Linked DNA regions of Homo sapiens: regions 2, 3, 4, 5, 6 and 7 are each linked to region 1. Evidence: promoter capture Hi-C in 16 types of primary human blood cells and fetal thymus (Javierre and others, 2016). All regions are on one chromosome and are shown on one strand. The core of a region is centred on a gene start or on the middle of the fragment in contact, and the rest is flanking DNA. Distances in the headings are between cores, read along the strand shown.

Evidence for each region. Contacts are between HindIII fragments. The CHiCAGO score rates a contact against its expected background, and 5 or more counts as called.
Region 2: a fragment that was not itself captured here is called in contact with the fragment with the promoter of NKD1-AS1 in region 1 in 7 of 17 cell types (total CD8 T cells, non-activated CD4 T cells, naive B cells and 4 more); the score reaches 11.6 in total CD8 T cells.
Region 3: the fragment with the promoter of TENT4B here is called in contact with the fragment with the promoter of NKD1-AS1 in region 1 in 10 of 17 cell types (monocytes, M1 macrophages, non-activated CD4 T cells and 7 more); the score reaches 8.1 in monocytes.
Region 4: a contact is called between a fragment that was not itself captured here and the fragment with the promoter of NKD1-AS1 in region 1, in 6 of 17 cell types (total CD8 T cells, naive CD8 T cells, naive CD4 T cells and 3 more). The highest score is 6.8, in total CD8 T cells.
Region 5: a contact is called between a fragment that was not itself captured here and the fragment with the promoter of NKD1-AS1 in region 1, in 4 of 17 cell types (non-activated CD4 T cells, naive CD4 T cells, naive CD8 T cells and 1 more). The highest score is 8.6, in non-activated CD4 T cells.
Region 6: a contact is called between a fragment that was not itself captured here and the fragment with the promoter of NKD1-AS1 in region 1, in 11 of 17 cell types (naive CD4 T cells, activated CD4 T cells, non-activated CD4 T cells and 8 more). The highest score is 13.1, in naive CD4 T cells.
Region 7: a fragment that was not itself captured here is called in contact with the fragment with the promoter of NKD1-AS1 in region 1 in 4 of 17 cell types (non-activated CD4 T cells, naive CD4 T cells, neutrophils and 1 more); the score reaches 5.8 in non-activated CD4 T cells.

Annotation. Positions count from the first base shown.
Region 1 is chr16:50,611,757-50,615,297 of GRCh38, reverse strand. NKD1-AS1 (NKD1 antisense RNA 1) reads left to right here and starts at 1,648. Exons shown (of 3, transcript XR_007065197.1): 1 at 1,648-1,707. All of the region lies in intron 4 of NKD1 (NKD inhibitor of Wnt signaling pathway 1), which reads right to left. The HindIII fragment of the contact is 2,641 bases long and covers 642-3,282 here.
Region 2 is chr16:50,229,778-50,233,656 of GRCh38, reverse strand. It overlaps TENT4B (terminal nucleotidyltransferase 4B), which reads right to left. Exons shown (of 12, transcript NM_001365324.3): 12 at 1-3,879. Among named protein-coding and RNA genes, the nearest start is that of ADCY7, 35 kb to the left of the region's middle. The HindIII fragment of the contact is 5,078 bases long and covers 1-3,879 here.
Region 3 is chr16:50,151,359-50,154,926 of GRCh38, reverse strand. TENT4B (terminal nucleotidyltransferase 4B) reads right to left here and starts at 1,621. Exons shown (of 12, transcript NM_001365324.3): 1 at 668-1,621. The coding sequence starts at 1,305. It also overlaps the pseudogene RPL10P14 and the pseudogene LOC124900375. RefSeq lists silencers at 782-951, 1,072-1,121, 1,302-1,401, 1,632-1,791, 1,902-2,071 and 1 more and an enhancer at 1,608-2,565. The HindIII fragment of the contact is 13,709 bases long and covers 1-3,568 here.
Region 4 is chr16:50,119,973-50,123,827 of GRCh38, reverse strand. No RefSeq gene overlaps it. Among named protein-coding and RNA genes, the nearest start is that of TENT4B, 31 kb to the left of the region's middle. RefSeq lists an enhancer at 198-698 and silencers at 1,923-1,982, 2,273-2,362. The HindIII fragment of the contact is 961 bases long and covers 1,077-2,037 here.
Region 5 is chr16:50,260,634-50,264,292 of GRCh38, reverse strand. It overlaps a transcript of ADCY7 not described here. Among named protein-coding and RNA genes, the nearest start is that of ADCY7, 4.1 kb to the left of the region's middle. RefSeq lists an enhancer at 2,079-2,148. The HindIII fragment of the contact is 2,147 bases long and covers 1,285-3,431 here.
Region 6 is chr16:50,207,793-50,211,576 of GRCh38, reverse strand. TENT4B (terminal nucleotidyltransferase 4B) reads right to left here. Exons shown (of 12, transcript NM_001365324.3): 2 at 131-254. Among named protein-coding and RNA genes, the nearest start is that of TENT4B, 56 kb to the right of the region's middle. RefSeq lists silencers at 705-999, 2,845-3,139 and an enhancer at 1,516-1,575. The HindIII fragment of the contact is 1,336 bases long and covers 898-2,233 here.
Region 7 is chr16:50,183,601-50,187,160 of GRCh38, reverse strand. The region is part of intron 1 of TENT4B (terminal nucleotidyltransferase 4B); the gene reads right to left. Among named protein-coding and RNA genes, the nearest start is that of TENT4B, 32 kb to the right of the region's middle. RefSeq lists enhancers at 2,060-2,621, 2,622-3,184. The HindIII fragment of the contact is 4,375 bases long and covers 67-3,560 here.

The sequences.
Region 1 (3,541 bases), core at 399-2,898:
CAGCATCATCAAAATGAAACAACGGTAAGTAGCAGAACCAGGATTTGAACCCAGAAGTTGTGGAACAAAGAGAACTAAATCCCAGTTTCCCAACTCCTCAACCACTGGCCTGTCCACTCTCTCAGACCACAATAGCTGACACCTGTTCCTGCCTGTCCAGCAATCCTTCTCCTCCTTCTGATGATAGCATCTGGCTTTCCTCCCCAGAGCTACTCATCCCCCACTCTCAGTCTATCTAGTTTATGGAGACTGATCCCACTCCAGGGTCACACTGCACTCAGTACCCCTACCTGACCCAGCTTGTTTCATCCTGAAGGCCACGTGGCTGGTCCTAGGTCAGTATGAAAGAAGAGTTTATGAAGAAGCTAATGAAGCTAGGCTTCTGGGCCCTCTCACCTACACGGGCCCTTTCCAAGTCAGGATGGGTCTTTGCAAGGTGTTTATGTGGTCATATGTGTTTGTATTTGTAACATTTTCCAAATTAGGCATTTTATCCTCAATCTATTAAGATTGTCATCTAACCATTCTGACATCCTTTGCCTGTGTGAGGTGATACTAGGGGAAATACAGGCATTTCTGGACATGAGCTAAGGAGAGACTGAGTTGGTGAGATATTTATTTTGGTTTGGCCCCAGAAAGCTTCAGGTCCCATAAAACCTAGATCTACCCTGGTCAAGTGACCAGTAAAGTGGTCAATAAAGTGAGTCCAACATGTGCAAGAACCCCTGTGACCTGGGAACTTTCTTCCACCTGACAGGGCTGTGCTCATAGGATGGGAGTGCCCAGAGCTGGGAACTGCCACCCTTGCCCCCTGTGGGGGAGAAGCCACCAGGGGACAGAGGGAGAGATGATGGAGAGGGAGAGAGAGGGGCAGCGAGCGAGACATGTGTGTGAATGTGTGAGTATACGTGTGTGTGTGAGTGTGTGTGTGTGCGTGCATGTGTCCATGACATGGTTTTAGCTCCAGAATCCAAACAGGCCTTTTTAGGCAAGATCTACCCTAGGATTTTTCAATTTCATGAGCCAAAAGTTTAAGTGAGTTTCCAAAAGAACCGAAAGAATCCTGACTTAACAAATCCGTCTCTCTGAGATCCTGCTTTTTAGGAAAAACCACCAGCACCAGCACCACAGCAGTAATTCACTCACCCAGGGCAGTCCCTCTAGGGTGATTTCCAGCTTTTTCACCTGTGGGTGTCTGCCCCTTCCTGAGACCAGAAATGCCACCAGGGACTTCTTCTCCACCATCCTGCCTCCCAGCTGCATTTTACTGCCACTAGATTTTGCTTATGGACCAATTGTAACTGAGGGGAAACAAAAAAGGGGGAAAAGCGGGTAGGGGAGGAAATCCTTCTCAACAAATAACATTCTGGCCTTTTTTTCCTCATCAGAGCATAAGGCTGGTGGCCACTCGGCTTTGACATCTGAACAGGATTGAGACGAAACATCTGTTCAGGGAGGGAGGGGGAAGCCCCGGGAGAGAAGGGGAAAGGGGAGAAAAAGCCTTCTGTGGGCTAAAAATATCACGTCCCTTCCACTCTCCCCCGCCCGCCCCCACCCAAGTTAAAACATGTGATGAAATTCGGCTTTTACAATCTAACCCCGAGCTACTTGAAACTATTAAAGCCTCTCCGGTATCTGACACAAGTCAGAATTTCCACTGTTCCAGCTGAGCTTTTATGAGGAGCAGACTTGAGAGAAACTGCCAAGGTAACAAAGTCCGCTTGTTCTCTGTCACCGCTGCAACTCAGCTTCTGGGGGGACTGTAGGGGAGTGGAGAGTCAGGGCCGCTGACACCCCCCGACAGGACAGGCTCTGAACTGAGGGAGAGGAGCCGGCGGGGCATGGGCACCTGCCCCTCCATCTGGGGGTCCCTGCTGCCTTCCCATGAACTCCTCTTCCTCCCAGCCTTCCTGGGAAGCCACCGCCAGCCCTGTGTATTGAGGAGCCTTGCCCGAGAGTCCCGGGCAATGTCCGTGGCTACTTCCTGAGAAGTCTTGACTCGCTCTCTCTCTCTGTTTCTTGCCCAACTGCTCCTTGAACCCCAAGCTCCAATCACCAGGTATCCCACGGCCTCCTCGGTACCTCTCCTTGGATGTTAAATGGGCATCTTGAACCCAACTGGTCCAAAAACGGGAGGCTTGATGGTCACCCGCCAAAACCTCCACCTCAGAAGTGACACCGCCAAATCCTTAGTTCCTGAAACCAAAAGTCTAAGATGCATCCCTGATCTCTCTCGTTCCCTCAACCCCCTTCTCACCAGCTCCAACCTCCAGCCCCATGGACCTCTCCCCAGCCCCAAGCTCCCAGGCTAGGCCAGCACCATCTCCTCTCGCCTGCGACCCTGCAGTCACCTCCTGGTTTCATTGCCCTCTTCCTCCCTGCCCATGGGCAGTCCCTCCCAGAAGCCAGAATTAACTTCTTAAAACAGAGGTCAGAATCCAGCAGTCACCCACCCAACCATCTGGGCAGAACCACGCAACCTAAGGGCGTGGTCCCACACTTGCCGACCACCCCACTCTCATTCCTGATGCCACATCGGCCTCCTTTTTGTTCTTCCCCAAACACCAAGTTCCCTCCACTCTGGGGTTCTGCTCACTCATAGCTGCTCTCCCCCTACATTCTTCCATGGCTGGCTCCTTCCTGGCATCTGCATCTCAGCTGAAACATCACCTTCTCAGAAAAGCCTCCTCACTCTACCTCTCCCTGGGTTTTACGTCTTAGCAGAGAACCACTACTAGAAACTTCCATGCTCCTTCGCAGATTTATGTATTCATCCCTGCCTCCCTCCTGTGAATGTCGTGACTGCTGGGCCTGCCTACCTTGCTCGTGCCTGTGAACCCAGGGCCCAGCAGAGCCCCTAGCTGCAGCAAATGCCCAGCACATACTGAATGGTGAGGAGTGAGGGGCCAGATTCTGTTCTCAGTCTGCTGTGTGACCCTGGACAGGTCACTTCCCTCTCTGGGCTTCAGTTTTCCAACTACAGATGAAAGGAAGTACAGGCCTCCCAAGTTCCTTTGCCCAACATCTGACCCCTGGGAGCCTGGACAGACTGGCCCAGGCCCCAACACAGGTACACAGGTCCTGCCTGAGAGGCCGGAGGGAGGGGTCACCTGCTTTCAGTGAGGCAGAGGGAGAGGTCACCTGCTTTCAGTGACTACAGGGTATTGACTTTCCTTCTTCAGTGAGTGTTTATTTATTGAGCACATACAGCATGCCAGACCCTACTCCAGGCACCAGGAGTACGGGGAGGCCTTTGGAGATTCTAACAGGATTAAAGAAGCTTTGCAAAGAGGTCCTCTTTGATCTGGGCTAGGTAAATGATTATAAACACGGGCTGACACCTCTTCAAGAAAACTGAACCCAGGAAACAAGAATCATGGCAGCTCAAGTGTGCTGGGCACTTACTCTGTACCAGGGCCACCCTTGCGACCTACATCCATCACCTCATTGTCTTCACAATAACCCTGGCAAAGAAGTGCTACAAGGAACCCAGTGAGGAAGTTGAGCCACAGGGAAGTGACTCACCCAAGGTCACACAGTG
Region 2 (3,879 bases), core at 265-2,764, 380 kb after region 1:
ATTAGCAGTTTATTAACTAAAAACTGTCCTCAAATATTTAATTCTAGGTATCAAATAGATCAGCAGCCTTTATAAGCAATTTTTCTGGTTAATAATTTTGTCAACATTCAACGTCTATATATATTTAGCTCATTATCTTTGACCAAAAAAAAAAGAAAAGTCGCTAAGGGTGTGAAGTCAAGATGGCTTAGAACAAGATGACTGAGAAAAAGGCTTCCAGTTAGGTCAAGTTTTCAAATCATGTAAATAACTTCTACAGTAAAATCTGGCTTCTTAGCTATGTTAAATATCGAGAAGCATATTAAAATTTGATCTTTAACACTTATTCTACCCACAAATGTTTTGACAAGATGGCAGGTAGCTAGAGTCTTGAGGGTCAGAAACCAAGGCAAGATGAACTCTTTTAAGGAATTTCATATATAAATCTTTGTTCCCACTTTAATGCTGGAATGTTAACATCATTCTCTAAATATTTTACTAGATGAACTATGACCCTGATGAAAATTACTATCAACAGTAACTACTAAATATAACTTTTATATTCAATTAGGTTTGTTAGACGCATTTATAGAATATTTTGCTCATAAAATACTTTGAGAATGTGCCTTTCCAATAACTGAAAGTTTAATGAACTAGGAGAACAAGAATAGATGGGTAAGAATAAATTCTTCTGTTCATTAATTTTAACATTTCAATATTTATCACAGCAAAATTGGGAATGTATTTTTGATAGTTTACCATTTAGTTTTGACTGTGAAGCAACCAACTGCCTAGAAACATTCTTGGTTAGTGACAGAAACACTGAGAAATCAACATATTAGAATTCAAGGAACTGATCAAACTATAGATCAATATTAAAGTAAAACTGAGATGTAGTCATGACCAATAAAAGTATCAGCAACATCTACCACTAATACCTAATAATGGTGATTTCTAACAGATCAACCTTAATAACTACACCTCCTAGTCACTGGAGAGGGCTTTGCAATGAACATGTCACAGCAAGAGAATCCTGCACGTCACGGTGGTCATTACTCTTTTCTGACCCTCTAGTGTTTCCAGAAACCCCAAACACTAGTCCACAGGTTCAGGCAAACACAAGTCACACTTACCATTTCATGGGGGAGGGAAGGAGCAGAAAACACATGGAGAGATATAAGGTTCCAGCAGAAAAAGACAATTAAAAATGCTCACCCTATAGCCCATGTTTTGCCCTGTGCAGATCTAGGAATATCTGGAGCCAAATCAAATAACCTAAATATTAATGAGGCTCAAAATGCAAGTAAAGGTAAAGTACACTCAAAACAGGATAAAAATAAAACAGAATCAACTGTTGAAGACTGGAGGGCAATTACTTGTAAAAAACATAGGTCCTACAGATCCAAGCTAGATTTGAAAACTGAGTGCGACATCTCCAAACCAAACAAAGACATTCAAAACCAGGCACCTTCACAGTCACCTTAAAGCTGGAGGGAAAAAATGGATATACTTTTATCATCAAAACATAACCAGTAAGATTTTGTGCTGACACCTCACCAACCCATCAGCTCCTCTAAAAAACAGTCTTTAAATATTAATATTTCTAATGGCCAGGTACACATACATGACTGCCTGAGAAATGTCACCAGAGTGAGGGAGAATTTGTAAAATCCCATTCAACAAGTATTAGCAAAGGAAGGTTATGATTCATGGATATGAATGGACTCTAATATATAAATGACACATTTCTGATATATTCACAAAATATAGGAAGTATTAAAACTCAAAAAAGAAATAAGATAGGAGTCAAATAGATGAAATGTATAAAACAAATGAGCAGGCAAACTAAAAGTTCTTGAAAGTATTTTACTTCAGATTGAAAAATGAACAGCTTCCACACTGTTCACTGCAAGATACACAGTATTCACGAATACAATGCTGGTCATTTGAGGAAATGTATACACACCTCAATTTCTCCTTCATGCTTTTTTCTTTTAGAAAGATACTGTTTACCAAAAAGAAACTTCAGCAGTACAGGAAAAACTATTTTCCCAATAAATTTACGAAAACCTAAGATTCCCAATGGAATCAGAATTATCTTCCCGCTACCACCACCTTAATATAATCACATGCTTATTGGAACACTAATATTCGCACCCTAAGAGTACATTTACTTTCAACAATGAGGGTGATTCTTTAAAAACAAACAAAAAACAACAAAAAAAACTTCAGTGTGGTAAATGTAACATAGATCTCTGCAAGTATTAAGTGTCTGAAATAGGCAGCTAATACTGGATTTAATATTATTTTATAAATAATTGTTCCCTTAGCAGTAAACATAAGTCTACACATTCACAATTGTCCTAGAAAATAAATACTGTGATTATGCACAATGTTATGACAAACTAGTTTCAAAAACAAAAGCTCAACATCTCAATAAAAATTCTGATCAGAATAAAATGTGACTCTAAAATTTAAAACATTGTCAAAATAACATCACATTTGAAATCTTCCACAGTTTACACGAGTACTATGAGTTTCCAGTTTTGGAACACATTTTTCCATTGTGAATTAAAATATGAACATATTGAAAATTGTTAATTTCAGTGATGACATCAGTTTTGGTCTTACTTTAGCATTATTTTCTTTATAAAAAGTTACACTAAGTGTCCATTAATGGTCTGATTGGTCTTCAGTATTTCATAAATGTATATAAAAGAAACTCCTAAAAGCCAATAGTACTTTATATGTATATATATATAAAAGAATCTCGTCTCAGAAATGGCTGCATTTAACAGAGCCATACACATTGATGCTAAACATAAGAGCTTTCACCCTGAAAGAAAGCATTTTCAGAAATGTCACTTACATTCTATTATATTAAATATTCCCAACTGAGTTTCAAACTCAACAGGTAATGATAACAGAATTATACATCTCATTGCACTCAAAGCTGACTACAACCAAAATTTACAGTATGATTGAAACAAGCCAATGTTTAAAAAAGTTTTAATTAACGATAACAATTCCATGAAAGAAGAGGATAAAGAATGGGATGACAAGAAGTATTTGGTCTTAATAAGGCAATACAAAATAGATCCATTATCAAAGACCATTTAATTTGTAAAGATCAACAATACCAAAAGCATAGAGTGGAATATAAGAAAATAGTTTTTTATAAGTATGATTTAATTAAAGCTGTTTACAGTTATTCTCCCACAGTAGTTAAGCATGAATTTTAAAAAGAATAAGAGATGAGAAACAGGCACACGCAGCACACAGGGTTAGAGAAGCCAGCATGCAAAGTCTGTGGAACTCGAAGTTTCACTGCAACAGGAATGAGACCAGACATGGGTGACCTTTTTTTTTTTTTTTTTCCTATTAGGAAGAAATGGGGGGAAAAAAAAAAGACTGCAAAGGAAGCAAACACAAAGTCATGTAATTGCCCATTGCCCAAGACGACAGCACTATAGAAAACAGTTGCAAGTTAATTCTCGGAGATGACCAGAGATTTTTCAGTGTTTACACAAAAGTACATAGTACATTTTTTTTTTTTTACAAAATAAAATAAACATCATTTGCCACCATAAACCTTTTCTTTAGAGAGGAAAAATTTTTGCAGCAGGACACAAGGGTTCTATTAAGTCATTTCAATGCTGAGAAAAACAAATTGAGTAATAGAACTAATCACTTCCCTATATATGGATGTTAAGATGACAATTTAGATTATTTTTCAAACTAATCCTGAGAAAAAATCTGTTTACAATTTAAACAGTAATGTTATGTAAAAAGTATTATTAACAAATCCACTATTACAAATATCAATCTCCTATATGGTCTTCTATATATACACACAATAAAATGGTAAATATATGCAAAAATATTTAAAAAAAAAACATG
Region 3 (3,568 bases), core at 372-2,871, 460 kb after region 1:
AACTTAGTGGTCACCCATCCCACGCCACCCTCTGCATAGACAGGGCATCTGTGACATGGGAATTTTTTAAAAATAAAAAGATGGGCCAAAGGGTCAAGAGCAGGCAATGCCTTACAGGGCTGACATAATTGCTGTCTGGGATTGGGGGATGGGGAGGAGCATTCTGGATGTTTCTATTCTTGGCAAGGAAAGCACCTCCGGGTCCTGCACCATCAAAAAACACTCACACACCAATGTTCTCAGGGAATGAATGATAGGCCCGTGCTAAGCGGTCTCATCTTGAGTTGTGATGATGGGGAAAAAGGTGTGGAGGGCTGGAGGCGGGGTGGTGGTCAAGGGTAGATGTGTTTAACTAAGGGGGATGGGAGGAGAGTGAATGGATAAAGGGGGGGGCCTGGGGAAGGTGTGGACGGTTAAGAGGGAGGGGAGGAAGGTGTGGACGACTAAGGGAGGACAGGAGACGGAGGGTGTGGACGGCTAAGGAGGCTTGGGGAAAGGTGTGAACGACTGGGGGGTTGGGGATGGCCAGCAGCACCCCCGTGCAACAGCAGCGAAGGCAGGCCGTGGGGGTGGCCGCTCCTAGACCCTCACAACCCCCCTCTGTGGGCGTGTGCCCGGCTGCGCATTCGCACCGGCCAGGCCATCGGGCCGCAGAGCCAGCACTCACCCCACGACTCCCTGGTTGTAGTTCCTCCGTTTCCACGGGGTCCCGCTGTACACGACCCCGCCGCCGTCTGCTCGGCCGCCCCCCGCGGCCCGCCCTCCGCTGGGCTGCAGCAGGCTGTAGTTGAGTCCATACGTGCTGGCCTTGTTGTCGCGCTTCCTCTTGTTGCTGCTGCCCGAGGCCGAATCGGCTGGATCGGCGGCGGGGACGGCGGCCGAAGGGTGCGGGGACGAGGACGCCGAGGGAGGCGAGGACGCCGAGGAGCCCGCCCGGCGGGCCCAGGCCCCGGGCTGGTGGTGGTTGTTGTTGTTGTTGGTCGTCTCTAGGGGCAGGAAGTCCCGCTGCTCCGCGGGCAGCGCGTGGCTGCCCAGCAGGCGCTCCCCGGAGCGATACATGCCGGCCGGGGCCGGGGCCGGGGCCGAGGCCGCGCCGCCGGGGCTGCCGGTGCTGCTGCCGCTCCCGCCGGTGGCCGTGCTGCTGCTGCTGCTGCTGCCGCCGCCGCCGCTCGCGCCGCCGCTGCTGTGACAGTGGTGGTTGAAGTAGAGGTTCCTCAGCCCCTGGGTCGTCTCCCAGATCTGCATCCACAGACTGTTGGACGGTCCGAGCTGCTCTGGCTGAAACCAGGCGATCCTCGGATCCATCAAACGGCGGCGGCCGCTGCCCCCGCCCCTCCCGGCCGCCCGCAGGGCCGCCGCCGCCGCCGCCTCAGGCGCACGCCCGGCCTCGGCTGCTGCTGCTGCTGCCGCTGCTGCCGCTGCTGCTGCTGCTGCTGCTCGGGGCCCGCCGCGGGCGGCGCGGTCGCGCAGGGAGCCCGGCCGGCGCCGGCGGCGTCGCTCCCGCCCTCGGGGGCTCCGCGGGCCCTCCCCCCCTCCCTCCGCCCCTCCGCCCCTCCGCCGAGCCCCTGTCACTGGGGTCCCCGTGCAAATGGCGGCGGCGGCGGCGGCGGCTCCACAGAAGAGCGAGCGGCGGCGGCGGCAGCGGCGGCAGCGAGACGCGCCTGCTCCGTAGCGTCCTCGCTCCTCCGGCCCCGGGGCGGGGCCTCTGCCGGCTCCGCCCCTCTCGCTCCGCCCCCCCCCCCCACCGCCCCGCCCTCACGCGCTCGCCCCGCCCCCGCTGCGCCGCGCAGCAGCCCGGGAGGCCTCGCCGTGCGTCACAGAGGCCGCGGCGCGACGGGGCCGCAACCGCCTGGCCCAACCGTACTTGCGCCATCTGTGGAGTGCTCCCACGTACCTGGGCGTCCGGGAGCTTCTGAGGCGCGCGCGGCTTCTCCGCCTCGGCTTCCCCGGTGCTGAGCGTGGACGAGGCCGCATGGAGGTTGCCGCCCGCCCCGCAGGGAGCGCGTTGTGGGAGGTGCCACTCCGCCCCTCGCTCCTCGCCCCTCCCATCCCTGTGGCCGCCGGATCCCGGGCCCTCGCAACCCTTCCTGACGTCTTGGCTTCTGCCTGCTTTCTAAAACACTTTCTTTTTAAAAAAAAAAAAAAAAAAAAAAACAGCCTATAACACTTTTTCTGGTGGCGTGGGGACACGCCCCCTGCCCGAGCGTGTGCCCCGGGGTCCTGACGCGGGCTGCGCGAGACCCTGCACGGCTACGTGTGCCCCGCCCTGCTGCGCCCTGGCCGGGGTGGGGGACCCCTCACCCCGGCCTGAGGCCACAGAAACCTGTACCCCATGCATAGCCCTGGGGGAGACCACTAAGACTGAGAGTGTGAGCCAAGGGCGGAAAGCCGCAGCCGCACACTCAACCCACTTTACAGGGACACGCAAACACGTGTAGATGCACAGAGAAGCAGACACACTCCTGCGCGGCGTAGCAAAGACGCTCTCCTGCCCTAAGGTGCACCAACAGCCTTAGAAAGCTCTTCTGAGTTCAGCATTAAATTTTAAGAAAACCCAAAACCTTTTAATCCTAAAATGAAGATTTAGCATCAGCAAAGATTGTCCACTAGGTCGTTATTTGCATGTCTTTCAAATCTCAGTGGTTAAAAAGCCAAGGAAAGGGGAATGTTAAGTATTTTAAATCAAGAGACTAAAAGAAAGTAAGTGAACAGCTTCTATGTGGGCCCTTTAAGGTTGGTCCAACGTCCAGAACAAGTCCCTGATGCCTGATATTGGCCTTCCATTTTGGGAGCTCAATATCCTGGAAAGTTTTTATGACAAATAGTGGAAAACTATCAAAGAACTAAGTGTCGCTCTACCTTTTTCTTTCTTTCGAGACTAACTCTTGCTCTGTCATCTGGAGTTCAGTGACTCATTCACAGCTCACTGCAGGCTCGGCCTCTTGGGTTCAAGCGATCCTCTTGCCCCAGCCTCCGAGTAGCTAGGACTATAGGCACGCGTCAACATGGCATAGAGACGAAGTTGCTCTGCGCTGCCCAGGCTGGTCTGGAACTCCTGGACTTAAGCGATCCTCCTACCTCAGACTCCAAAACTGCTGGGATTACAAGGGGGTGAGCCACCACGCCTGACCTTACTTTTTTTTTTTTTTTTGGTAAGAGAATAAATAGCACGACCAGAAATACGGAAAACACACAAAGACCCTTCAGCTGCAAACAACAGCTTCCTTGGTAGTTTATGCAGCCTGTTTCTTGTATGGGCTGCTCTAAGGGACCATGGAGACAGGCCTTTCAGATGTATGTTCATGTCTTTGACCTTGCACTACGCCAATGTAGGCTCCAGGCAGATATTCGAGGTGCCTTTGAAAAGCTCCAGGGCACTGTGGCCAGGGTTCACATTGGCCAAGTTATCATGTCCATCTGCAACAAGCTGCAGAATAAGGAGCATGTGATTGAATCCCTGCTCAGGGCCAAGTTCAAGTTCCCTGGCTGCCAGAAGATCCACATTTCAAAGAAGTGGGGCTTCACCAAGTTCACTGCGGATGAATTTGAAGACATGGTGGCTGAAAAG
Region 4 (3,855 bases), core at 308-2,807, 490 kb after region 1:
CTCCAGTTGAGTCTCCAGATGAGAACACAGCACTGTTGATAGCTTGATTGCAGCCTGGCAAGAACCTGAAACAGATAACTCAAGGAAACAGTGCATGGACTCTAGACCCACAAAAACTGAGAGAGACTAAATGTGTTTCTTTAAACTGCTGCATTTGCAACAATTTGTTACACAGCAATAGAAAACTAATATTGATTGGTTTGTTCATTGCTCTATCCTGAGTACATAGGACAGGATTCAAGCATACATTAGGTACTTAATAAATATTTGTTGAATGAGTATATTGTTACAGAAAAGCAAAATAGCAAACAAAGTGGGCCAATGTTATAATATGTTACCAGTCATAAGAGTGCCCTGTCTATGTGCATACACATCGTCTATCTCTAGAAGGGTATACATGGAAGTAACAGAAGACCAGGGGAGGAAAACTAGAGCATAAGAAATCCATGAAAAATTGAGACTTTCACTTTATACTCTTCTGAACTGTTATTTATTTATTTATTTATTTGAGACAGGGTCTCGCTCTGTCACCCAGGCTGGATCTGCAATGGTGTGATCATGGCTCACAGCAGCCTCCAATTCCTGGACCCAGGCAATCCTCCCACCTCAGCCTCTTGAGTAGCTGGGACTACAGGCAAGCACCACCACATCCAGCTACTTTTTTTTGTTGTTTTTTTGAGACGGAGTCTCGCTCTTTCGCCCAGGCTGGAGTGCAGTGGCACCATCTCGGCTCACTGCAAGCTCCACCTCCTGGGTTCACGCCATTCTCCTGCCTCAGCCTCCCAAGTAGCTGGGACTACAGGCGCCTGCCACCATGCCTGGCTAATTGTTTTTGTATTTTTAGTAGAGATGGGGTTTCACCGTGTTAGCCAGGATGGTCTCGATCTCCTGACCTCGTGATCTGCCCACCTCGGCTTCCCAAAGTGCTGGGATTACAGGCATGAGCCACTGCACCCAGCCACTTGTTTTTGTTTTTGTTTTCTTTTTTTTCATTTTTTTGTAGGGACGAGGTCTTGCTCTGTTGCCCAGGCTGGTCTCAAACTCCTAGGCAAGGAGGGAAAAATAAGGGAAAAGCTTGGCCCGCTTGTTTTGCATTTTACCTTGGAAAAGGCCCTCATGGCTTGGCTTGACACATGTCTGGAAAAAGAATTCCTAAAACAAAGGAAATTTTTTTAAAAGAGGAAAATAAGAATTTACCTTTCTGCTGCTTTTGTTGTTGTCATTTGTTTGTTTTGGGGGTTTTTTTTGAGATGGAGACTCACTCTGTCACCCAGGCTGGAGTACAGTGGCACAACCTCAACCCACTGCAACCTCTGTCTCTTGGGTTCGAACTATCCTCCTGTCTCAGCATCCTAAGTATCTGGGACTACAGGTGCATGCCACCATGCCCGATTAATTTTTTTGTATTTTCAGTAGAGACGAGGTTTCACCACGTTGGCCAGGCTGGTCTTGAGCTCCTGAACGCAAAAGATCGGCCTGCCTCAGCCTCCTAAAGTGCTGGGACTACAGGCGTGAGACACGGTGCCTGGCCCTTTTCTGCTTCTTTGTGATGTAGTCAAAACATAACGTGCTATTGACTCTGAAATTCTTTGTTTTTCTGGGGGAGGCCAAGGCAGGAGGGGCTCTGCAGGTACTGGATTACAGGTGTGAGCCACAGCACATGGCCTGAATTTCGTTTTTAATCTATAAATGTATCACTTAAACATGCACCCCCAAAACCAAATAGCTCCTATGACTTCCAATTTCAAGTAAAATCCCTTCTTCAGCACTTACTCCTTTACTTGGCGCTCTGCCTTCCCCATCCGGGAAACACCCTTGTCTGTTGCACCTGCCCCGTAATCCCCCTCCAGGATGTTTTGTGGTGAGCGCCTTCAACAAAAGAATAGCTACAGAATTAAATGTGTTTGGAACCACATGCACATCGTGCTTTGACTACCTCACAAAGGAGCAGAAAGGCAAATTCTGTTTCCAGTAATGTGCAAAGTCAAGCCACAAGGACCTTCTCTGAGGTAAAATGCAAAATGAAAGGGCCAAGCTTTTCCCTTATTGTGATTGTGTAACCAGCCTAACAGACATTTAATTTGAGAAAAAATTTGAATAATAATATGGAGTTACCCTGGAGTTTTGGGATGGTCTAAGAGTAAGCTTTGAAAAATGTGGCCAAAATGATTATAATCAGGGTGGGGGGAGCAATTTCTGTATTTATTTGGCTGACATGAAAAAAAAATCCAGCTGAAAATCTGCAGGCTGACAAATGGACAGAACCCATTACAGAGCAAGAAAAACTGAGTCAGAGAGGACAGGCTAGAGCTCTGGGAGGCCACACACCTTGTGCCAGAAATCGAAGCTGCCAAGCTTATCACTTACAAACCTTGTCATATCATGTTAGTGGGACGGTTTCAAATGGATAGCCCCTGATCTGTTTTGAAACTAGCCAATATAGCTGGGTGCGATGACTCACACCTGTAACCCCAGCACTTTGGGAGGCCAAGGCAGATGGATCACTTGAGGTCAGGAGAACGAGACCAGCCTGGACAACATGGTGAAACCCTGTCTCTACTAAAAATACAAAAGTTAGCCAGGTGTGGTGGTGGGCACCTATAATCTCAGCTACTCAGGAGGCTGAGGCTGGAGAATTGCTTGAACCTGGGAGGAGGAGGTTGCAGTGAGCCAAGATCGTGCTACTGCACTCCAGCCTGGGCGACAGAGCAAGACTCCATCTCCAAAAAAAAAAAGAAAAAAGAAAGAAACTAGCCAATATAACCAACTTAAAATATAATGGAAGTCATTTCTCTTAGGGCTATAGAGAATATGTGAGACACAGTGAGTGGACTGTTTCTTGTGATCACATCTTATTTACCTTCAGTAATTAGCAAGGGACTGTGACCACAGCAATACAAGATTATTGACCTGTTCAAAGTTCTAAAACAGGACCTGAAAAACACAACCATAATTAATGTTGAATGATTAATCAACATCTATGTGTTGATGGCTGAAAAACCTTGAGTTATAAGATATTATCTCTGTCTAGCTTTTTAAATCATAATTAGTTTTTTTTGTGTGTGTGTATGTGTCTGTAAGACATTACAATTTTGCCTAGCACAGTGGTGAGTCCCTATAGTTCCAGCCACTCAGGAGGCTGAGGCGAGAGGATTGCTTGAGTCCAGGAAGTTCAAGACCACCCTGGGCAACATAGTGAAACTCCATCTCAAAAAAACAAACAAAGCAGCTATAAAATATTGCAGTTTCTCACAGGTGACACTATGGCTACGTCTGCTTGATTATTCAATCTGTTCAAGCCGGACAAGTTGTCAACGTGGCTACAAGTTCATGACTTTGGATCCTATGAAGATCAAAAGTTATGCTTAGGCCAGGCAAAGCTCACACCTGGTAATCCCAGAGCTTTGGGAGGTCAAGCTGGAAGGATCACTTGAGGCCAGGAGTTAGAGGCTGCAGTGAGCTATTATTGCACCACTGCATTCCAGTCTGGGTGACATACATAAATAAATAAGGTGGCACACAGCCTCTTGGCCACAATAACATCCTTTTCAAGAAATATCTGGGTACTTGACTAAATAGCTGTCTTTGCCTTTCATTCATTCATTCATTTATTCATTCTACCAATATTTAACACTGGGGTGCAAGGAGGCATAAGTAAGGACTGTTACTCACAGTCCGGTGGTCCATGGGTTTGTGGGTGTGTCTTCCAGCCAATGTGTCATTGTAGCCAAATCTTTTCTTAATTGGTTGGAGTGCGAGCTCCTGGAGAAGAGACACAAAGGATGGGTAACTCAAGTGGGGAAATTGGTGTTCCTGGAGCAGAGAATCCTGGTGCCACATCCTCAGATTCCCAAG
Region 5 (3,659 bases), core at 1,109-3,608, 350 kb after region 1:
ACACACAACATGAATGAATATCCAAGATGGCAAGGACAGTGAAAGACCCACCCACAAAAGACACATTCAGCACGTTTCCATTTATATGAAACTTCAGAAATGATGAAACTAATCTACAGTGACAGACAGCAAGACAGCGGTTGCCTCTAGGGAGGCCGCTGATTGGAAAGGGGCACACAGGAAACTTCTGGGGGCTGAGGAGGTTCTAAATCTCCCTGTGGGTGCTGGTTATACAGGCGAGTGCCTAAGTACACTCATTACCCTGTACATTGAAGGTTTGTGCACTTGCCTGTATGTAAATTACCCGTCCATTTTTAAATGGGTATTGAGGGATACCCGTTTGCGTATGCAGGAGGGCATGGTGCTGGATGCTCAGTAGATTCAGGAAAAAGAACAGATCTGACCTGGCCCAGTGGGCGAGAGGCTGATGAGACACATGCTCAAACCCTGAGGAAAGCGCGGCGTGGAGATGGAGCCGCTGGGGGAGATATCGGGGGCCAAGGGGAAGGGGCATAGGAGGCAGGGCAAGTCCAGGGGAATGGCAGGTGGGGAGCGACCCACCCTGACCAACATTTCTGCAAGATGATCTCGGCTTGAGAAAAGGGGCAGCTTGGAGAGGACACATGTAGATGCCTGGACACAGGAGGGGGGTTCCCCACTGCCTGCTGGGAGCTTATGGGGCCCTGGGCTTTCCAGCACCGGCCATAGAGCAGGGAGTGTGTGAAGATAAACTGGCCATACAGCAGAGGCTGTATGATAACAAACCCTGCAGTTTGATAATGAGAGGGGCACAGTAAACCCTGCCGTTTGATAATCAAGGTTCCTGTCCCACTGAGCAATACCTCCTGCCCTCCCAGGCTGCCCGCCCAGCTTTCTCCTTGGAAGATGTGGCGGTGAGTCTCTTCCCTGCTGCAGCCTCAGCACTGCCTCAAACCAGCTGCTCCCCGCAGCCGCAGCCACCAGCCACCACTTGACACCCCACCCCTCACGCTGTCTAGGAGGTCCCGGCAGGCAGGATCTGAGCACACACAGGTCAATGCTCCCTGGGATCCACACAGGCATCACCCAGGACTTTACACACACAGCCTCATGGCACTCCCTGGCAGCCCCACTGAGGAAGGCCCTGCTATCATCCCTCTGTAGAATAAGGCACCAAGGCTCAGAGACACCACATTGCTGGCCCAAGCACACACAGCTATGAAAAGGCAGAGCCAGGATTCAAGCTCAGATCTACCTGACTTCACAACCCATGCTCCTGACCCTCCCTGGGAACAAGGACAAGCTTCCATAGGGACAGGCTACCCCTAACCCCATTACAAGGTAATGAGCATGGTGAGTACCCTCACCCAAGATCTCCCAGCCCTGGCACACAGTGCTCCCAAGTGTGCTGAACAAACACCCGCTTTCTTTCAACTCCCCCAAAGAAGGGCAACCTTGGGCTTTCACAGTAGCAGACAGGGAAGGCTGGTTTCTGCTTGGTAGAGGCGCCAGGGCACACAGCACAACCCCAATCCTTTCCTGTCCCTCTCAGCAACCCCCATCCTCTTCCCTGGTGCTAGGGACACAAAACTGACTTGGACATAGTTCCCTTTCATGCAAGTTCCTAGGCTGGGAGGAGGTAAGAGGTGCCCATCAAAGGCATGGCATAAAGCTCTGGGGAGAAGCCGGCAGGGCATGGTGGCTCACACCTGTAATCCCAGTACTTTGGGAGGCTGAGGAGGGTGGATCACTTGAGGCCAGGAGTTCGAGACCAGCCTGGCCAACATGGTGAAACCCCGTCTCTAATAAAAATACAAAAATTAGCCGGGCTTGAGGGCAGGCGCCTGAATCCCAGCTACGCAGGAGGCTGAGGTGGGAGGAATACAAAAATTAGCCAGGCATTGTGGCGGGCACCTGAATCCCAGCTACTCGGGAGGCTGAGGTGGGAGGATCGCTTGAGCCTAGGAAGCAAAGGTTGCAGTAAGCTGAGATCACACCACTGCACTCCAGCCTGGGTGACAAAGTGAGACCCTGTCTCAAAAAAAAAAAAAAAGAGATCTGAGGAGAAGTACCCAGCAGGGTCCAGGCATATGTGGCCCAGAGTTTAGGGGAGAAGGACTTCCTACCCTGGGCAACAATGGGGGCTCAAGATGAGGCCATGAAACAGTCAGTAGGAGAGACTCAAACTGCAGCCAAAACGAAGCAGACAGTCAAGCTGTCAGTCAGCCAAGGGACAAATAACACTGAGTGCTGAGCAAACAGCTTGGCCCTGCCACACAAACCTAGATGTCGAGCCCTTACTGGGGGAAGGAAAGCCCCAGCACCCAGTGGGCTTGGAACTCTGGGCACGTCTCTGTAGGGGCCAGGGGATATGAGAACAAAAACCACCGTCCATGCCACAGTCACCTCTTCCTTCCCCTAAGGTCGGGGGTTCACGGCACCGGGAGGAGCCCTGGGAGGGTCTGAGCAATTGGGCTGGCCACTTGTCGCCAACCTCGCCTATCGTCCTGGCAGGATGAAGAGGAGCCTTCAGGAAGGTCCTGCTATTATTCCTGTCTGAGAGCTCTGGAGTCAGGGGCTCCAGGGAGAGACTTTGGCGGAGCTAGGGGACCCTGGTGGCTCAGGGAGTCCCTCTGTAAAGTCAGGAGATGTGGCCCACTCTGCTGGGAGCCCGTGGGGGGCTGTGAGAAATGCCGACAAGGCACATGGTGGGTGCTGGGTGCAAGCCAGCAGGGAGGAGGCCAGCCAGGCGTTCTCCCCGCTCTAAACCCTAAATCCCTAGGCTCTGCGACGTGCCTGCCCCTCCTTCAAACAACTTCCATGGCTTGCCTGTGCCTCCAGAGGCAAGTCCTGCCTCCTCCTCCTGCCTCTCGGGGACCCCCACCTGGCCCAACTCACTTTTCCATCCTTATCTGCCTCCACCTGCTACCCAGCTGCCTGACTCTTCCATTTCTTTGCTCAGGCCTTAGTGTCCCTGGAATGCTCAAAATGCTACCCATCCCGCCAGGTACTGGTGCCGCCTCTACCAGGAAGCCTTCCCCAGTGCCCCACCATCACCTCCTCTAGGCCACAATGCCATAGACCTCTCCACAGAGGATGTCATGTCCACTTTTGGTAACAGCTCCCTGTTCCTATGGGGAACCAGCCCTGCAGGGGTGGACTCACAACTAGCGTATATGGAGGAATGGGTGTGAGACTCAGGTGGTCCTGTGAAATTCACTTCCAGGACTTTTGTTGGGACTGTGGGAAAGTGTTCTCATTCACTTGGCAGTAGGTGTGAGCTACGAGCCACTGGGGCCATCTTTGCCACAGTGGCAGTCAGCCTCCAGTGACCCTTGTCCCCTGGCACTCATGTCTGTGAATGGTCCCCTCCCACACCACCTGTGTGACCAATAAAATATCGTGGAAACCACAATATGCGGCTTCTGAGATCATGAAAGATCTCAGAAGCTTCCACTCAGCTTTCCTTTGGATCTCTCCCTCTAGGGGAAGCCAGACACCATGGCTCGAGGACACTCAAGCAGCCCCAAGGAGGGATCTGTGTTCGAGGAACGGAGGCCTCCCGCCAGCAGCCAGCACCAACCCACCCTGCATGTGACAAAGCTGCCTTGGAGGCAGACCCTCCAGCCCCAGTCAAGCCTTCAGATGACTGCAGCTTGACAGGCAGCTTGATTGCAACC
Region 6 (3,784 bases), core at 316-2,815, 400 kb after region 1:
TTTAATTAGACCACAACTCTACAGAGCACTTCTACTTGCATGTGAGGACTAGCATGAGATACCAGCAGATAGGCTTCTAGCCCGTGGACAAGGACTGTCCGAAGCATAAGCTACCCAGGAAGGGACTCACGTCAGCGCTGGGCCAGAGCTCCTTAATTACACTCTCGATCCTGTTCACCACCTCCATCCGCATCTTCTCCTCCTCAGGTCTTGGAGACATGTATTCATAAAAATCACTGATTTCTTCATGCAGACTGAAGAAAAAAACAGAAAAGTTAATATGAACAGGGCCAATCTAATGAGAAATCACTATCTTAAATAATCTTATCTAATTAAGTCTTATAATTCAGCTGATGACTACCTTAATTTTAATGTTATAACTCAAGATAAGCTAAAATGGGAATGTACAGAATTTAATCAAAAAACCCAAAATAATTAAATAATGAGAAATTTCCTGTGCAAAACACTTGCTGGGGTGCTGGTGATTTAAATAAAATAAAACAAGCATACGGGCTGGCCTCTGCCTTTCCACTTCTGATCTAATAGACACAAGATACTGAACCCAGGTGACACAGGCAAGTTTCCTGGCAGTAGGGACTGACCCTCTTATCTCTTGGGGATCCATTCCTCACAGTAGCAAACAGTACATCTTTCATAATGTTTGCTCAGTGAATTAAGTGTCAAATGAACAAATCAGGCAGTGAACAACAGCAAAGTCTTGAAAAGAATGGCTGGCAAAGGCTCCATGAAGGAGCTGAAGACTTCCAGAGCCTGCGAGGTACAGGGCAATCAGCCAGCTACAAGGGCTGTGGCAGGCAGAGTGGGAGAAGCATCTGTAGAGGAAAGCAGGCCCCAGCAGAGGGCAGGCTCTGAATGACTGGCTAAGAGGTTCAAGCTTTCCCCCTGTGGCAACAGATAGCTATTTAAATGTTTCTGAGAGGGACCAAAAGAGACTGACTTCAAAAATGCAGCATTTTAAGAAGATTAAACTGGCAACTATGGAAACAATGGACCAGCAAAGAGACTAGACTGGATGCAGGGAAAAGTCATGAATCACTGAGTTGCAAAAGGATTGGATGAAGGCCTAGAGGCTGGTGGAAGGAAAGGAATGGGCTCCAGAAACAAAAGACACACACATACCCACACCCTGCGGATAGGCGCAGCGCCTGACTATCATGGTGGTGGGGGGCTAAGGATGCCTTCAAGGGCTGAAGCCTGAGGGACTGGGGGAAAACTACTGGTCTGGAAGAAAGGACAAACTCACTGGGCTGAGCAATGACTTGAACATAGTCAGGACGGGGGACAGAGAGAAAAGCAGCATTCCTTTCTAAGTTGGTGAGGCTGTGAAGAGCTATGGCTGGGAAGGGAAAGTGAAGTGGTCAGCTCACCTTCCCTAGAGCACTGACCACCCACGAGGACTGAGCCACAGAGGTAAGCACAGGGACTCTACCAACTGGGATAGACCAGAAGGCTCGGAGCAACAGGTGCAAAGTGCCTTAGGGGAAGGAGGGGCAGGGGGTTTGGCCTGGGGCACAGCAGTGGTAAGGAAGGGCAGCCACAGCTTAACAGAGCCTTGAAGGAGGAGCATGTCTGCAACTGCATGGCAACTTCAGGGTCCAGAGCAGGAAGCTCGAAAAACTGGCAGGCCAAAAATTGTTTTAGGGAAGGAAAAAAAAGTGTCTACATCCCAATCCCCAAAGACTATAACTTTTGCTACAAGAAACCTTAGAAAGTGAAAATGTGACTGATTAAGCAATCCATAGTTCCTCCTTCTGATTTTTTATTTTTAGCCTAAGAGTCAAAAACCTTGAGTTCTAGACTCAGGTTCTGCCTGAGGGCAGCTGTGTTCCCTCTGACAGGTGACTGGCACTCTCAGGCTTCAGTGTGTCAGGTACAGCACACAGCTGGTAAGCAGGAGCCTTTTCAGGCCTTCAGTTTCAAAACCTGGGCCTTTCGTAGAGGATGATTTACAACAGCGTTCGGCCTGTTTGCTATGCAATATGTCATAAAACGTGGATCTTAAAACTCCAGAGAGGTCTGTAGGTGAATCCAGAAGATATCCCAGTGGGGACGTTTTCCTTGCTATGCCTCTGGGTACCTCAGGACCTTCAACTTCCGTTTCGAAGTTTTGTTTTGATTTGAGTTTCCCAGGTTTGATTATGTTCTCTAAGGTTATCTAAACCCTTCTGCTTCTTGAAGACAGCAGCTGAATGGGAATAGCTGTTAGGAAGCTTATGCTTTGCTGTGCTCTTCTGCACAGGTTGGCTGGCAAAGATGAGGGCCATGAATAAACGACAGAACAAATGGACTGCTTCTTATCTCATTGCGTAGTCTGCTGTGAGTGATCGGAGTTTATTTGTAGTTCTAAAGCAGATCCATAGAAAAACTGCATTTTAACCAATGGGGGGGAAAAATCTCCTAAATGTGACTGCATCTACTCTCAAGGCCCCCTTACGAATTTTCTAATTCAAATAAAGGCAAAAAATATTTAGCACAACTGCCAGTCAATCTGAAGTCATAAGAAACTTATTAAGAATTCATTCTCTGGCCAGGCGCAGTGGCTCACGCCTGTAATCCCAGCACTTTGGGAGGCTGAGGCAGGCAGATCGCCTGAGGCCAGGAGTTGGAGACCATCTGGCCAACACGCAAAACCCCATCTCTACTAAAAATATAAAAATTAGCTGGGTGTGGTGGCGCATGCCTGTAATTCCAGCTCCTCGGGAGGATGAGGCACAAAAATCACTTCAACTTGGGAGGTGGAGGCTGCAGTGAGCTGACACCGTGCCACTGCAATCCAGCCTGGGCAATGGAGTGAGACTTTGTCTCAAAAAAAAAAAAGACAATTCATTCTCTAAACACTACCAAGTGCCTATGTTCAAGGCACTAGGAGAAAACTGGCTCATAAAACATGATCCTTGCCCTGGGTCACTTCCATCTAACAATGAAAAGGAACACTTATTTAAAGCAGTTTTGTAGTGTGTGCAATGCATATGTTCTGTACTATTCTGCCACAGGCAGCTTCCAGATGAATGATTCAGAGCTTTCCAATGATCACAGCTGCCCAGGATGGACTGGGTCACCTTGTAGGTTAGTAAGGTTCCTGTTACTACCAGCATAAAGAAACCAGATGACCATGAGGCAAACAAAGGTCCAATAAAAGGGCTTTCTGAGCTTGGTAAAAAGTTGGAAAAGATTCTAAAATTCACTTTCAGTGCTGCAATTCTAGGGTTCTAACTAGCACATTAATTTGGGGGGAATTATTATAGATTTATAAGACAGGCTCTGAAGACTACCCTCAACAATCAATAGCCCATGGCACCACCTTCCTATTTTAGAAAAAATGGTTCCACAGGTTATTGTATTTTGATTGATGCATATTTGCCACACTGGAAGGAGAAAAGAGGAATACAGAAAAAGAGGAGGGCTATTATTAAAGCAAAGCCACACTTGCAAAGTCAGAAGAGGAAATCCAATCTCGGGTCTGCCAGGCTCAGTTTCTCATCCACACCAGGCACAAGCATCACCATCTCACCTATATGTAACTAGCTACGTGTGAAATACTCAGAGAACAACCAGATAAAATATCTTGGAATACTGAGGAAATAAACTTCAAGTACAGATTTTAAAATAATTCTAACAGGCTCTATCCTCAGGACTGAGTAATTTTACTGGCACAGTGCCTTGCATATTCAGGCACTTAAAATACCCTGACGAGCTGGAAGTCCGTTTGTAGAGTGTGCACTGTAAGTCTGGCTCTCATTTGAGTGGCAGAGTGGACCACCTG
Region 7 (3,560 bases), core at 1,005-3,504, 430 kb after region 1:
TTAGATATATGACACCAAATGTACAGGTAACAAGATAAAAAATAAACTTCATCAAAATTGAAAGCTTTTGTGCATCAAAGGACACTATCAAGAGAGTAAAGGCCATGTGCAGGGGCTTACACCTATAATCTCAGCACTCTGAGAAGCCGAGGTAGGAGGATTGCTTGAAGCCAGGAGTTCAAGACCAGCCTGGGCAACAAAGTGAGACCTTATCCCTTCAAAAAATAAAAAAATTAAAAATTAAAAAAAGAAAAATAAATGAAAATAAAAATTAAAAAATTGGCAGAGTGCAGTGGCCCACGCCTACAATCCTAGCACTTTGGGAGGCCAAGGCAGGTGCCACTTGAGGTCAGGCAAGATGGTGCCACTGTTCTCCAGCCTGGGCAACAGAGTGAGATTCCGTCTCAAAAAAAAAAGTGCAAAGGACCTTATGGGGAGAGACTGGAGCCCTTGAACTTTGCTTGTGGGAAGGTAAAATGATTTAGCTATGGTGGAAAAGTCTGGCCATCCCTCAAAGAGTTAAACATAGAATTATCATATGATCCAGCAATTCCACTCCTAGGTATGGAACCAAAAGAACTGAAATCAGAGATTCAAACAAATATTTGGTTATCAATGTTCACGGCAGCATTATTCACAACAGGTAAAGGGGGAAACAATTCAAATGTCCATCAAGGTTGAATGAAAAAACAAAATGTGGTATATATAAACAATGTAATATTAACTATCTCTAAAAACATTAAAGTGATACAAGCTACCACATGGACAAACCTTGGAATCAGCCTGCTAGATGATGAAAGCCAGGAACATAATTAAAACAAAGCATCACAAGAAGAAAAAAAAGCCAGAAACAAAGCGACAAATATGTAGGATTCCACTTAGATGGAAGAGGCAAATTGATAGAGATAGAAAGTAGAATGGTGATTGCCAGCATCTAGTTGCAGGGAAGGAGTGATAAACTATTGTTTAATGAGTACAGAGTTTCTGTTTAGGATGATGAAAAGTTCTGGCAATGGACAATGGTGATGGTTATACAACACTGTGAATGTACTTAATGCCACTGACTTGTAAACTTAAAAATGGCTAAAATGGTAAATTTTATCTTATGTATATTTTACCACAATAAGAAAAACGTTAAGCTAACACTGGATATCTATAAAAATGTTTTGTGCAGAACTTAATTTGAGAAACACCACTACAGAATTAAAAGTAAAAATTACACCATTTATGTAATGTTTAAAAATACAGACAATAGTGTACTAATAGATGTAAACATAGATGAGAGCATAAAAGTACGGATGGAAAGGGCACACATTTGCCTCTGAGGACAGGTCACCTCTGAGGAAGTGGGGGTAAGGGGGAGTGAGAGGTATGCCAAGGGTGTGCAGGTGAATCTGAGTAGTTGCATTCCTTAAGAAAAGAGAGAGGGAGGAAGGGAAGGAAGGAGGGAATAAAGGAAATCAAATGTGTCAAATCCCAGTGGAAGGTAACCAGAGCTTCGATACGTTACTCTGCATCCTCTTCACGTGTTAAGTAATTATAAAAACAAACTCTGAAATCACTAAAAATCAAAGGTTTACACAATAAGGAAGCATGTAAATTAAAACTTCCCTCAACCATTTTACACAGTGAATGAACAGATGACCCATTGACACAGGGAAATGTTCCAGAACTTACCATAAAGACCAGCTTGAACTTTCCTTCCCTCCTCCCTCCTCACAGATCTAAGATGCCATGAACAGTCAACTGGAGTTGCCAATCACCATTCACTAGCCAGACTTCTCTCTCACTTCATGACCATAATTGGTCCTGTACTTTGTACTTGCCTCCAAAACTGCAAGTTAAGTAAGCATTAATCCCCATTAGAAGTAAGGTGAAAGCTGCAGCATTCCTCTCGATATACAAGTAAATTCCTACTAGGCTAGTAATACACAGTAAGATTGGTTGATAATTTACTTACTGCAAGTAACTGAAAATTGTCATTACTTAGATGCAGAAATTCCCACAGAAGCCAGAAACTTGGAAGCAAACTACAACTTGGAGCTTGCTTCTTTGCTAGTCATACCAAGACTACCCAAAGAGTATCAGGGTGGAAATAACCCTAGCGCCTCTCTCTCTTTCTCACTCGCCTGCACAATCAGGTCTTTTATTTTCTTTTTAGGCAAAGCACTATTTCCATCTAAGTACAGGGAATGTGAGAACACAACAGGCTCAATTAACACTCAGAACCAAAAGTGGGGATACTCCTAGATATTGACCCAAGAGAAATGAAAAATGTATGCTCACACAAAAATTGCAGCATGATACTCAGGAGCCTGAGGCACAAGAATCACTAGAACCAGGGGGCGGAGGAGGCTGCAGTAAGCCTACTACACTCCAGCCTGCGTAACAGAGTGAGACTGTGCCCTCCGCTCCCCCCACAAACAAAACAAAACAAAATAAAAAAAAACCCTCAAGCATGATGGCAGCATTATTCTCTTTTTTTTTTCTTTTTGAGATGGAGTCTCGCTCTGTCGCCCAGGCTGGAGTGCAGTGGCGCCATCTCGGCTCACTGCCAGCTCCGCCTCCCGGGTTTACGCCATTCTCCTGCCTCAGCCTCCTGCGTAGCTGGGACTATAGGCGCCCGCCACCACGCCCGGCTAATTTTTTGTTTTTTAGTAGAGACGGGGTTTCACCGTGTTAGCCAGGATGGTCTCGATCTCCTGACCCTCGTATCCACCCGCCTCAGCCTCCCAAAGTGCTGGGATTACAGGCGTGAGCCACCGCGCCCGGCCGGCAGCATTACTCTTAATAGTCAATGGAAAACAACCTAAATGTCCATCAACTGATGAATAGATAAACAAAACATGGTATAACCATACAATGGAATATTACCCAGCCACATAAAGGATAAAGTAATGATACATGCTATAACACAGATGGACCTGGAAGACATTATTCTAAGTGAAAAAAGGCAGACATCAAAAGCCATTAATTTTGGCCTTCCAAAATTAATGTATTATACTACTGTATTGTGCATTCCATTAATATGAAATGTCCAAAACAGTCAAATCCGTGGAGACAAAAAGTATTCTGATGGTTGCCTAGTGCTGGGAGGTTAGGGGAGAAATGAGGAGGAACGACTAATGAATACAAAGTTTCTTTTTGGGTTGATGAAAATGTTCTACAACTTATTCTGGTGATGGTTGCACAACTCTAGGAATACATTAAAACATAAAAGATATAATTCACCCACTTTAAATGGGTTAGCCACCACGCCTGGCTAATTTTGTATTTTTAGTAGAGACGGGGTTTCACCATGTTGGCCAGGCTGGTCTCAAACTCCTGACCTCAGGTGATCTGCCCACCTCGGCCTCCCAAAGTGCTGGGATTACAGGCATGAGCTACCGCGCCTGGCCAAATCTGCCCAATTCTTTTGCAGATGCTTCTCCACTGGAAGACACAAATGCCCATTTCTGAAACGGCTAAATCTCTCAACTTATCGAGTTCCTGTGTATGTGATCTTCTGGCCAAGGACACACAATTTTCTAATTCAATGGTGCCAAGTACACTATTACTTC